Regions from separate parts of the Homo sapiens genome. Here regions 1 and 2 are each linked to region 3. The links are contacts of gene promoters, found by promoter capture Hi-C in human tissues and cell types (Jung and others, 2019). All regions are on one chromosome and are shown on one strand. The core of a region is centred on a gene start or on the middle of the fragment in contact, and the rest is flanking DNA. Distances in the headings are between cores, read along the strand shown.

What was found. Contacts are between HindIII fragments. The study calls those that stand out against the background at their distance.
Region 1: a fragment that was not itself captured here is called in contact with the fragment with the promoter of WDR70 in region 3 in 1 of the 25 tissues and cell types used here (bladder).
Region 2: a fragment that was not itself captured here is called in contact with the fragment with the promoter of WDR70 in region 3 in 1 of the 25 tissues and cell types used here (lymphoblastoid cells).

The regions. Positions count from the first base shown.
Region 1 is chr5:37,560,451-37,563,981 of GRCh38, reverse strand. All of the region lies in intron 9 of WDR70 (WD repeat domain 70), which reads right to left. Among named protein-coding and RNA genes, the nearest start is that of WDR70, 180 kb to the right of the region's middle. RefSeq lists a silencer at 860-1,038 and an enhancer at 846-1,553. The HindIII fragment of the contact is 4,709 bases long and covers 1-3,531 here.
Region 2 is chr5:37,627,506-37,630,986 of GRCh38, reverse strand. The region is part of intron 10 of WDR70 (WD repeat domain 70); the gene reads right to left. Among named protein-coding and RNA genes, the nearest start is that of GDNF-AS1, 210 kb to the left of the region's middle. RefSeq lists an enhancer at 142-642. The HindIII fragment of the contact is 4,042 bases long and covers 34-3,481 here.
Region 3 is chr5:37,377,314-37,380,781 of GRCh38, reverse strand. It overlaps WDR70 (WD repeat domain 70), which reads right to left and starts at 1,464. Exons shown (of 18, transcript NM_018034.4): 1 at 1,390-1,464; 2 at 1,228-1,293. The coding sequence starts at 1,414. The HindIII fragment of the contact is 7,487 bases long and covers 1-3,468 here.

The DNA of each region.
Region 1 (3,531 bases), core at 249-2,748, 180 kb before region 3:
TCTGCCAGGCCGCCCATCGTCTGAGATGTGGGGAGCGCCTCTGCCCTGCCGCCCCGTCTGGGATGTGAGGAGCGTCTCTGCCCGGCCGCCCCGTCTGAGAAGTGAGGAGACCCTCTGCCTGGCAACCGCCCCATCTGAGAAGTGAGGAGCCCCTCCGCCCGGCAGCCACACCGTCTGAGAAGTGAGGAGCCCCTCCGCCCGGCAGCCACTCCGTCTGGGACGTGAGGAGCATCTCCGCCCGGCAGCCACCCCGTCTGGGAGGGAGGTGGGGGTCAGCCCCCCGCCCGGCCAGCCGCCCCGTCCGGGAGGGAGGTGGGGGGGGGTCAGCCCCCCGCCCGGCCAGCCGCCCCATCCGGGGGGAGGTGGGGGGGGTCATCCCCCCGCCCGGCCAGCCGCCCGTCCGGGAGGGAGGTGGGGGGGGGTCAGCCCCCCGCCCGGCCAGCCGCCCCATCCGGGAGGTGAGGGGCGCCTCTGCCCGGCCGCCCCTACTGGGAAGTGAGGAGCCCCTCTGCCCGGCCAGCCGCCCCGTCCGGGAAGGATGTGGGGGGGTCAGCCCCCCGCCCGGCCAGCCGCCCAATCCTGGAGGTGAGGGGCGCCTCTGCCCGGCCGCCCCTACTGGGAAGAGAGGAGCCCCTCTGCACGGCCAGCCGCCCCGTCCAGGAGGGAGGTGGGGGGCCAGCCCCCCGCCCGGCCAGCCGCCCCATCCGGAAAGTGAGGGGCGCCTCTGCCTGGCCGCCCCTACTGGGAAGTGAGGAGCCCCTCTGCCCGGCCAGCCGCCCCGTCCAGGAGGGAGGTGGGGGGGTCAGCCCCCCGCCCAGCCAGCCCCCCCATCCGGGAGGGAGGCCGGGAGGTCAGCCCCCCGCCCAGCCAGCCGCCCCGTCCGGGAGGGAGGCGGGGGGGGTCAGCCCCCCGCCCGGCCAGCCGCCCCGTCCGGGAGGTGAGGGGCGCCTCTGCCCGGCCGCCCCTACTGGGAAGTGAGGAGCCCCTCTGCCCGGCCACCACCCCGTCTGGGAGGTGTACTCAACAGCTCATTGAGAACGGGCCATGATGACAACGGCAGTTTTGTGGAATAGAAAGGGGGGAAAGGTGGGGAAAAGATTGAGAAATCGAATGGTTGCCATGTCTGTGTAGAAAGAGGTAGACATGGGAGACTTTTCATTTTGTTCTGTACTAAGAAAAATTCTTCTGCCTTGGGATCCTGTTGATCTGTGACCTTACCCCCAACCCTGTGCTCTCTGAAACATGTGCGGTGTCCACTCAGGGTTGAATGGATTAAGGGTGGTGCAAGATGTGCTTTGTTAAACAGATGCTTGAAGGCAGCATGCTCGTTAAGAGTCATCACCACTCCCTAATCTCAAGTACCCAGGGACACAAACACTGCGGAAGGCCGGAAGGCCGCAGGGTCCTCTGCCTAGGAAAACCAGAGACCTTTGTTCACTTATCTGCTGACCTTCCCTCCACTATTGTCCTGTGACCCTGCCAAATCCCCCTCTGGGAGAAACACCCAAGAATGATCAATTAAAAAAAAAAAAAAAGAGAATTAAGCCTCAAAGCCATTAATTAACTTGCAGGATCTAAGTTTTCTGATTTTTCTAGGATGTCATTTTACTTTTTTTTTTCTTTTGAGACACACAGTCTCACTCTGTCAGCCAGGCTGGAGCACAATGGTGTTATCTTGGCTCACAGCAACCTCTGCCTCCCGGTTCAAGCAATTTTTGCGCCTTAGCCTCCCAAGTAGCTGGGATTACAGGCATGTGCCACCACACCCAGCTAATTTTTATATTTTAATAGAGACGGGGTTTCACCATGTTGACCAGGCTGGTCTCGAACACCTGGCCTCAAGTGATCCACCTGCCTTGGCCTCCCAAAGTGCTGAGATAACAGGCATGAGCCACCGCGCCCAGCCTAGTATGTCATTTTAAAAAACAAAGAAAAATTTTCACTTAATGACATAAAATTTTAACATGCATTTGGTGTCACCTCCTCATATGTAGACCCCAGGACCATGAGACAGCATCATGGAATACCTCAAATGCCTCTTTTTTCCTTGCCACTATTTCCTTCAACCTTAATTCTCTAAATCCACAAGTTCTTTCTTCCTTTTCCACAATAACACATGAAACAATATTTACATAAATAGCAAAACTGCTTACAATTTCAGATGCTATCTTTATGTTAAATCAACAGAGAACCTTTCTAATTTACTACTAAAAAGCAGTAAGTCACAATATGAACTATAATAAAAGGGATTCTACCCACCAGAGGATTAAGCTTTGCCAATACAATGAGACCTATTTTATAAAAATAACCCTCATAACGACATGGCCTGTTGCTGAGACCCTCCTACACCAGATCCTGTCCTTGTTGGGGATAAAACAAGCTTTAGCACCATGCCAACAAAGCAGCTGCCACAAATGAATTCTTCCTGATTCTAGAGAACTATCACTCCATTTCCCCACCAAGGTGGCTAACCTTATTTGTTGTTAGCATGTGTTTTGGCTATATAGCTTAACTAAATATTTTATGCAATTTAAATTAAACAGCTGTTTTAGCATAGTGTATACCATCTCTGTGATATCGATGAGGAAGACTTTATTTCTAAAAGAATTCAAAAATATGGATTTATAGACTGACCAAAATAATCTTATCCCTCGGTTTTCTATATTAGTTAGATCGGTCCATTTTTCTAGCACTTTGAGAGAGAGGATAGAGGATACCAAGAAGTACAAATTGTCCCGTCTTCGTGGCACTTAAAGTATTATTTAAAGAAATTTCTTTTTTCCTGTAATACCAGTGAAACGAGACATGGCAAGTCTGTAATAGCCAATCACAGTCATCTTCTTAGTAGATTTCCCCTGACAGTATGTATAGTAGACTGCTTTTCATGGAATTAAGAAAAGAATGCAGTTGACTCAGTAATAATGACATATACATGAACCTGCCAGTCATAGGTGTACCACATGGCCGGCTCAGCCAAGCTTTGACTTGTATTTTTTTCTTCAAGATTGGCTTCTTGGTGGTCTGCACCTATAGTCCTAGCTTCTCAAGAGGCTGGAGAAGGAGGACAGCTTGAACCCAGGAGTTCAAGGCTGCAGTGGGCTATTATTGCACTAGTGCAATCTGTCTGGGTGACAGAGCAAGACTCTGTCTCTTAAAAAAAAAAAAAAAAAAATCTGCTTCTGCAAGCCCTGTTCATGTAATAAAATAAATGACGAATAGCTAATAGGATGTCCAGGGAAGGCCCAGTGAAGGCCCAGTGATTCCAAATGTCACAAAGCTTCTAGCTGCTAACAAAGAGGCCTAGTCTCTTTTTTATAAAGAACTATTGAAGCATATTAGATAGGCTCATTTATAATTTGGAATATGCAGTTGCATAACTTGAAGAAATTATGGTAGGAATTAGCAATAACTAATAAAGTTTAATTTATGTTTGGTCAGCAAAGTGTATATAATTTAAATATTTGAAACAGCAGAAAAATAAGAAGGAAAAGTGTCAACTATAGACATACAGCTTACCAGGTAGACTCTCAT
Region 2 (3,481 bases), core at 805-3,304, 250 kb before region 3:
ACAAATGCCTACAGTCCTTCAAACAGAAGAATCCCATGGTCCTTACAAGCTCTCAGCTCCATCTGGAGAAATGCCAGGAATTCATGCAGTTTCACTGCTCCAGATTAGGAGCACAAGGTGCACCCTCTCCCCTGTGAGACAAGCTACTGCAGCAGAGTGCCATCTTGTTACCTGAGGCACCTCTGGAATGCTCCTTGCTCAGGGAGCCAGTAGCCCTACTGCACTTCTCCAGCACTGGGGTTTCATATTGATTATGCCAAGTCCATACATTATATATGAATGTCACAATCCCAGCTGTGCAGAGTATGGGCCCAGGATTGGCTGTGACTATGGTCCTACACAGCAGGTAACCAACTCCTGGGGCCACACTCCCAATTGCACTAAAAGCCTACCAGTCCTGCCTAGGACAAATCCATCCTTGGGCTAGCCAAACCACTGCATGCCCTCTGCCAGGTGGGAGAGGCCTACAAGTCTGCAAGCAGCTGACATAGCCCTGGGCCAGTGGAGTGGCTAAGTGCCCACACTCAGGGATTCAGAAACACAGTGCCCTCTTCCCTCCCAAGACATGTCCTGCCCAACCCCCTCACATCCTCAACAAGGGTCTGAGAAACAATGCTGTAGGCCACCCCTGGTGGAAACATTGCAGACTGTTGAAGCAGCCATGAGCCTAAATACATGGCTGAGAAACAGCCCTATGAGCCATCCCCAGCAGACATGCCTTAGTCTAGCCAAGCAACTACAAGCATGCCTGTGCTCCTGGCTAGAGTAACATCCCTGTGGCTACAACCCCAGTGAGCCAGACTCCAAGCTGCCTGACCCACTGTGTGCATGAACAAATGCCCAACCTAAGAGACAGCCCAGTTAGCCCAAGCCTGGCAAAGCTGCACTACTGTCACCACAAACTCTCTCAGCCTAGGCCACTGAGAAACTCTCAAATGCCCCCAGTATGGATTACGGTTGAAGAAATTTTATGACAACTACACTACTGTGTCCACCTAGATCCAAAGCCAATGCACTCCATCAAATCAACAACCCAAGATCCATTTATATGAGTAAGTCTTTCCTTGTGACACCTAGTGAATAAAATTGGAAGAGGCGACCACCAGATTCACAGAAATTAATACAGAGACACAGAATAATGAAAAAGCGAGGAAGCATGTCACTTCCAAAGAGAAACATAATTCTCTAGTAACAGACCACAATCATAATACATGCAATGCCAGAAAAAGAATTCAAAATAATAATCTTAAGGAAACTGAGTGAGATACAAGAGAATACAGATAAACAATTCAACAAAATCAGGAAAACAACTTATGATATAAGTAATAAATTCAAGAAAGAGGTGGATTATCATAAAAAAGAACCAAAAAGAAATCCTAGAGCTGAGAATTAAATGAATGAAATAGAAAATATAATTGAGAGCTTCAACAACAGACTATACCAAATGGAGGAAAAAATTTCTGAACTTGAAGATAGATCTTTTGAAATAACACAAGCAGTGGCAAAAATGAATTAAAAAGAATAAGGAAAGCCTAAAGGATTTATGAGATATCATTAAGCAAGCAAATATTCATACTATGGGCATTCCAGATGGAAAAAAGAAGGGTAAAGGTGAGGAAATCATATTTAATGAAATAATAGCAGAAAATTTCCTGAGTCTTGGGAGAGAGATGAGCATTTAGGTCCAGGGAGCTCAAAGAACCCCAAACAGATTCAACCCAAACAGGTCCTCTCTGGAGCCCAACATAGTCAAATTGTAATAAGTAAAAGACAAAGAATTCCAAAAGCATTCAAGAGAAAAGAGTCAAGTCATAAATAAGGGAATCTCCATTAGGCTAACAGCAGATATCTCAGCAGAAAGCTTACAGGCCAGGAGAGAATGGGATGATATATTCAAAGTACTGAAAGCAGGGGTGGGGAAACCCTGCTAGCTAAAAATATTATACCCTGCAAAGCTATCCTTCAGAAATGAAGGAGAAATAAAATCTCCCAATAGAGAAGCAAAAACTAAAGGAATTTATCACCACTAGAACAGTCTTACAAGACATGCTCAAGGGAGTCTTACATCTGGAAGTGAAAAGACAACAGCTACCATCATGAAAACATGTATAACTATAAAACTCACTGGTAGAGCTGATACAAAAGTAAGAAGAGAAAATAATCAATCCTTACCACTAGAGAAAACCACCTAACCATAAAAATGATAAGTAAGGGAATAAGGAACAAAGGATATGCAAAATAACCAGAAAATCAACAAAATGAAAGGAGTAAGTCCTCACCTATCAATAATCTTGAATGTAAGTGGATTAAATTCCCCCATTTAAAACATATACACTATTTGAATGAATGAAAAAACAAGACCCAAACATATTCTGCCTATAAGAATCTCACCTCAGCTATAAAGACACACTTAAACTGAAAGTATTACATGCACATGAAAATCAAGTGAGCAGGAGTAGCTATGCTTATGTCAGACAAAATAGACTTCAAGTTAAAAGCTATAAAGTGACAAAAAAGTACGTTATATAATAATAAAAGGATCAATTCAGCAAGAGAATATAACAATTGTAAATATATTTGCATCCAACACAGGAGCACCCAGATATATAAAGCAAACATTATTAGATCTAAAGGGAGAAATGGGCTTCAGTACATAGTGGGGAACACTTCAATATGTAGTAGGGAATTTCACCCCACTCTCAGCACTGGAAAGGTCATGTAGGCAGAAAATCAACAAAGGAACATAGATTTAAACTGCACCACAGGCCAGAAATGGAGGCTTATGCCTGTAAACCCAACACTTTGAGAGGCCAAGGCAGAGGATCACTTGAGGCCAGGAATTTGAGACAACCCTGGGCAATGTAGTGAAACTCTGTCTCTACAAAAAATAAAAAATAAGCTGGCTGTGATGTCATGTGCCTATAGTCCTAGCTACTAAGGAGGCTGAGGAAGGAGTATCGTTTGAGCCCAGGAATTCAAGGCTGCAGTGAACTATGATCACGCCACTGCACTCCAGCCAAGGTGACAGGGTGAGAACTTGTTTCTACACAAACTGTACCACAGACCTAAAAGACATTTACAGAATATTTCACCTAACAACTTCATTCTTTTCAGCAGCACATGGAACACTCTCCAGGACTGACCATATGTTAGGGCACAAAACAAGTCTCAATAAATTTTTAAAAATCAAGATATGACGCATCTTATCTTGCCACAATGAAATAAAACTAGACATAACAAGAGGAACATTCAAAACTATACCAACACATGGAAACTAAACAAAATGCTTCTAAACAACCAACAGGTTAAACTCAAAATTAAGAATGAAATTTTAAAATTTCTTGAAACAAATGGAAATAGAAACACGATGTACCAAAGCTTATGGCACACAGCAAAAGCAGTATTAAGAGGCAAGTTTATAGTAATACATGCCTATGCCAAAAAATAAAAAGATTTCAAATAAAAAACCTAACAATGCACC
Region 3 (3,468 bases), core at 215-2,714:
CAGCTACTCAGGAGACTAAGGTGGGAGGATGGCTTAAGCCTGGGAGGAGGAGGCTGCAATGAGCGAAGATCGCACTAGTACACTCCAGCCTGGGTGACAGAGCGAGACTCCATCTCAAAAAATAAAAAAAGAATAGAAAAGGCTGGGCACAGTGGCTCACGCCTGTAATCCCAGCACTTTCGGAGGCCGAGACGGGCGGATCACGAGGTCAGGAGATCGAGATCATCCTGGCTAACACGGTGAAACCCTGTCTCTACTAAAAATACAAAAAAAAAATCAGCCGGGCGAGGTGGCGGGCGCCTGTAGTCCCAGCTACTCGGGAGGCTGAGACCGGAGAATGGCGTGAATCCGGGAGGCAGAGATTGCAGTGAGCCGAGATCTTGCCACCGCACTCCAGCCTGGGCGACTGAGCGAGACTCCGTCTCCAAAAAAAAAAAGAATGAATAGAGAAACTACAGAACTAGTATGTGTGAACACAACCCAAGGCCAATATGTGTAAGTCTACTGTTTAATTACTATCATAGAATTAATACACGCTGGTCAAAAGAAAACAAGAAGACCTTGAGAAAAGGTTCAGGGAAGTTAGAATCCCAATGTTTGGATGAACAGCATTTATAATTTTAAAATGGAAAATAAAGAGAAATCATTTTTCATGTATCAGTCTACTAAGTTTTGTTTTCATTTTTTAAATAATTTTCTTTTTAAATAATAATACCTACTCTGTGTTGGTAGGGATATGGTAAAAATGGCATTCTTAATTCTGTTAACTTTGGTATAACCTGGAACAAGTTTTTTGATGGGTATTACGGCAATAAGCATCAAGAAGCTTTAAAAGGCACATACCCAATTTTTCAGCTTTTTAAGTATTTATATTTCTGAATAAACTACACTCTCTTTTAGAAATCTACCCTACCGAATTACGTATTTTTAAAAATCCTCGTACAAATGCTGTTATTTACAAAAATGTTCATTTTAGCATTATTGGTGACTTAAAATTAGAAAAATCCTTTCTCTTCCTCTCTCTCCAGACTCTCATAACTGTCATCTGAGTTGGTTCCAACGGATAACGCAGAATAGAAGACAAATGGGAGAAGAATATTGACAAACTGCAAGGTATGCACCCGAGCTACAATAATTCCGAGTTGACAGCTCGATCTCCACTCCCACTCTGCGGATCTTCAAACCTCTGCACAAGGAAGAGGGTCTCTGCCTGGGGCAGTCACTCACCGAACCCCGTGAAGCCCATGGTGACCGCAAGCTGCGGGTCCGGTCCCGACGCGTCTGAGCCTGTCACTGGAGCAAGAGGAAAAGAGAGGCGGCCTAGTTAGTGCGGCGCCCCAGCTCCCCCGACACGGCCCACCCCGCCCGGACTCGCCTCATGAAACCCACCTTCGCTGGGCCCAGAGCGCTCCATGGCTGGCCGCACACCCCAGAACCAGCCACAGGGACAGCCCAAACAACTGCAGGGGAACTTGCCAATAACTTGCGGCAAATGCTGGAGGAAGTACCGCCTTCAAGCTACAGCGGCGCCGCCGAAGCCAAGAGCGGCGCCTTCCGCAGAGGGACCGCGGCTTTCTGCGCGGCACCGCCCTACCGGACAGGCGGGAAAGCGCCGCGCAACTCAGACCACTGGAGGGGAGAAGTAGTATCTGGAGTTTCTATAACATCCTTTCCCTTTTTTTTTTTTTTTTTTTAAGCCAGAGCCTCTGTCGCCCAGGCTGCAGTACAGTGGCGTAATCTCAGCTGACTGCAACCTCTGCCTCCCGGGATCAAGCGATTCTCCTGCCTCAGCCTCCCGAGTAGCTGGGATTACAGGTGCCGGCTAATTTTTGGTTTTTTGTTTTGGTTTGTTTTTTTTTTGTTTTTGTTTTTGTTTTGAGACGGAGCCTCTGTCGCCCAGGCTGGAGTGCAATGGCGTGATCTCGGCTCACTGCAACCTCCGCCTCCCGGGTTCAAGCGATTCTCCTGTCTCAGCCTCCCAAGTAGCTGGGATTACAGGCGTCCACCACCACGCGCAGCTAATTTTTTGTATTTTTAGTAGACACGACGTTTTGCCATGTTGGCCAGGCTGGTTTCGAACTCCTGGCCTCAAGTGATCCGCCTGCCTCGGCCTCCCAAAGTGCTGGGATTACAGGCGACACCCTTTGCTTTTTTTTTTTTTTTTTTTTTTTTTGAGGCAGAGTCTCACTCTGTTGCCCAGGCTGGAGTGCAATGGCGTGATCTCGGCTCACTGCAACCTCTGCCACCCAGGTTCAAGCTCTTCTCTTGCCTCAGTGTCCTGAGTAGCTGGGATTACAGGCGCCTGCCACCACACCCGGCTAATTTTTGTGTATTTAGTAGAGACGGGGTTTTGCTATGTTGGCCAGGCTGGTCTTGAACTCCTGACCTCAGGTGATCTGCCCACCTTGGCCTCCCAAAGTGCTGGGATTACAGGCCCCGTGCCACCGCGCTCTGCCTTTTTGTTGTTGTTGTTGTTGTTGTTGACTGAGTCTCCCTCTGTTGCCTTGGCTGGAGTGCAGTGGCGTGATCTCAGCTGACTGCAACCTCTGCCTCCCAGGTTCAAGCGATTCTCTTGCCTCAGCCTCCCGAGCAGCTGGGACTACAGGTGTGCGCCACCATGCCCGGCTATTTAGTATTTGAGACTACAGGCACCCGCCACCACGCCCAGCTAATTTTTTCTATTTTTAGTAGAGGCAGGGTTTACACCGTGTTAGCCAGGATGGTCTCAATCTCCTGACCTTGTGATCTGCCCACCTCAGCCTCCCAAAGTTCTGCGATTAAAGGCGTGAGCCACTGCACCTGGCCTGTCAGTCTAAAGTTTACAAGGCTAATCGTGTGCTCAGGATTGTCCTTCTTAAACAGAATGTGGGAGTTCAACACTTTAACGTTTAGAAGGTGGAGAAGAATCTCTTTCTTTTTGAGACAGAATCTCACTCTGTCACCCAGGCTGGAATGCAGTGGCACAATCTCGGCTCAATGAACCTCCACCTCCTGGGTTCAAGCGATTCTTGTGCCTCAGCCTCCTAAGTAGCTGGGATTACATGTGACCGCCACCACACCCGACTTTTTTTTTTTTTTTTGAGACAGAGTCTCGCTCCATTGCCCAGACTGGAGTGCAGTGGCGCGATCTCAGCTCACTGCAACCTCCGCCTCCTGGGTTCAAGCAATTCTGCCACAGCCTTGCGAGTAGCTGGGATTACAGGCCCTGCCACCACCCCTGGCTAATTTTTGCATTCTTAGTAGAGACAGAGTTTCACCATGTTGGCCAGGCTGGTCTCAAACTCCTGACCTCAAGTGATATGCCCGCCTCAGCCTCCCAAAGTGCTGGGATTACAGACGTGAGCCACTGTGCCCGGCCTAATTTTTGTATTTTTTGTAGAGATAGGGTTTCATCATGTTGCCCATGCTGGTCTTGAACTCCTGAGCTCAAGCGATCCACCCGCCTCAGCCTCCCTAAGTGCTAGGATT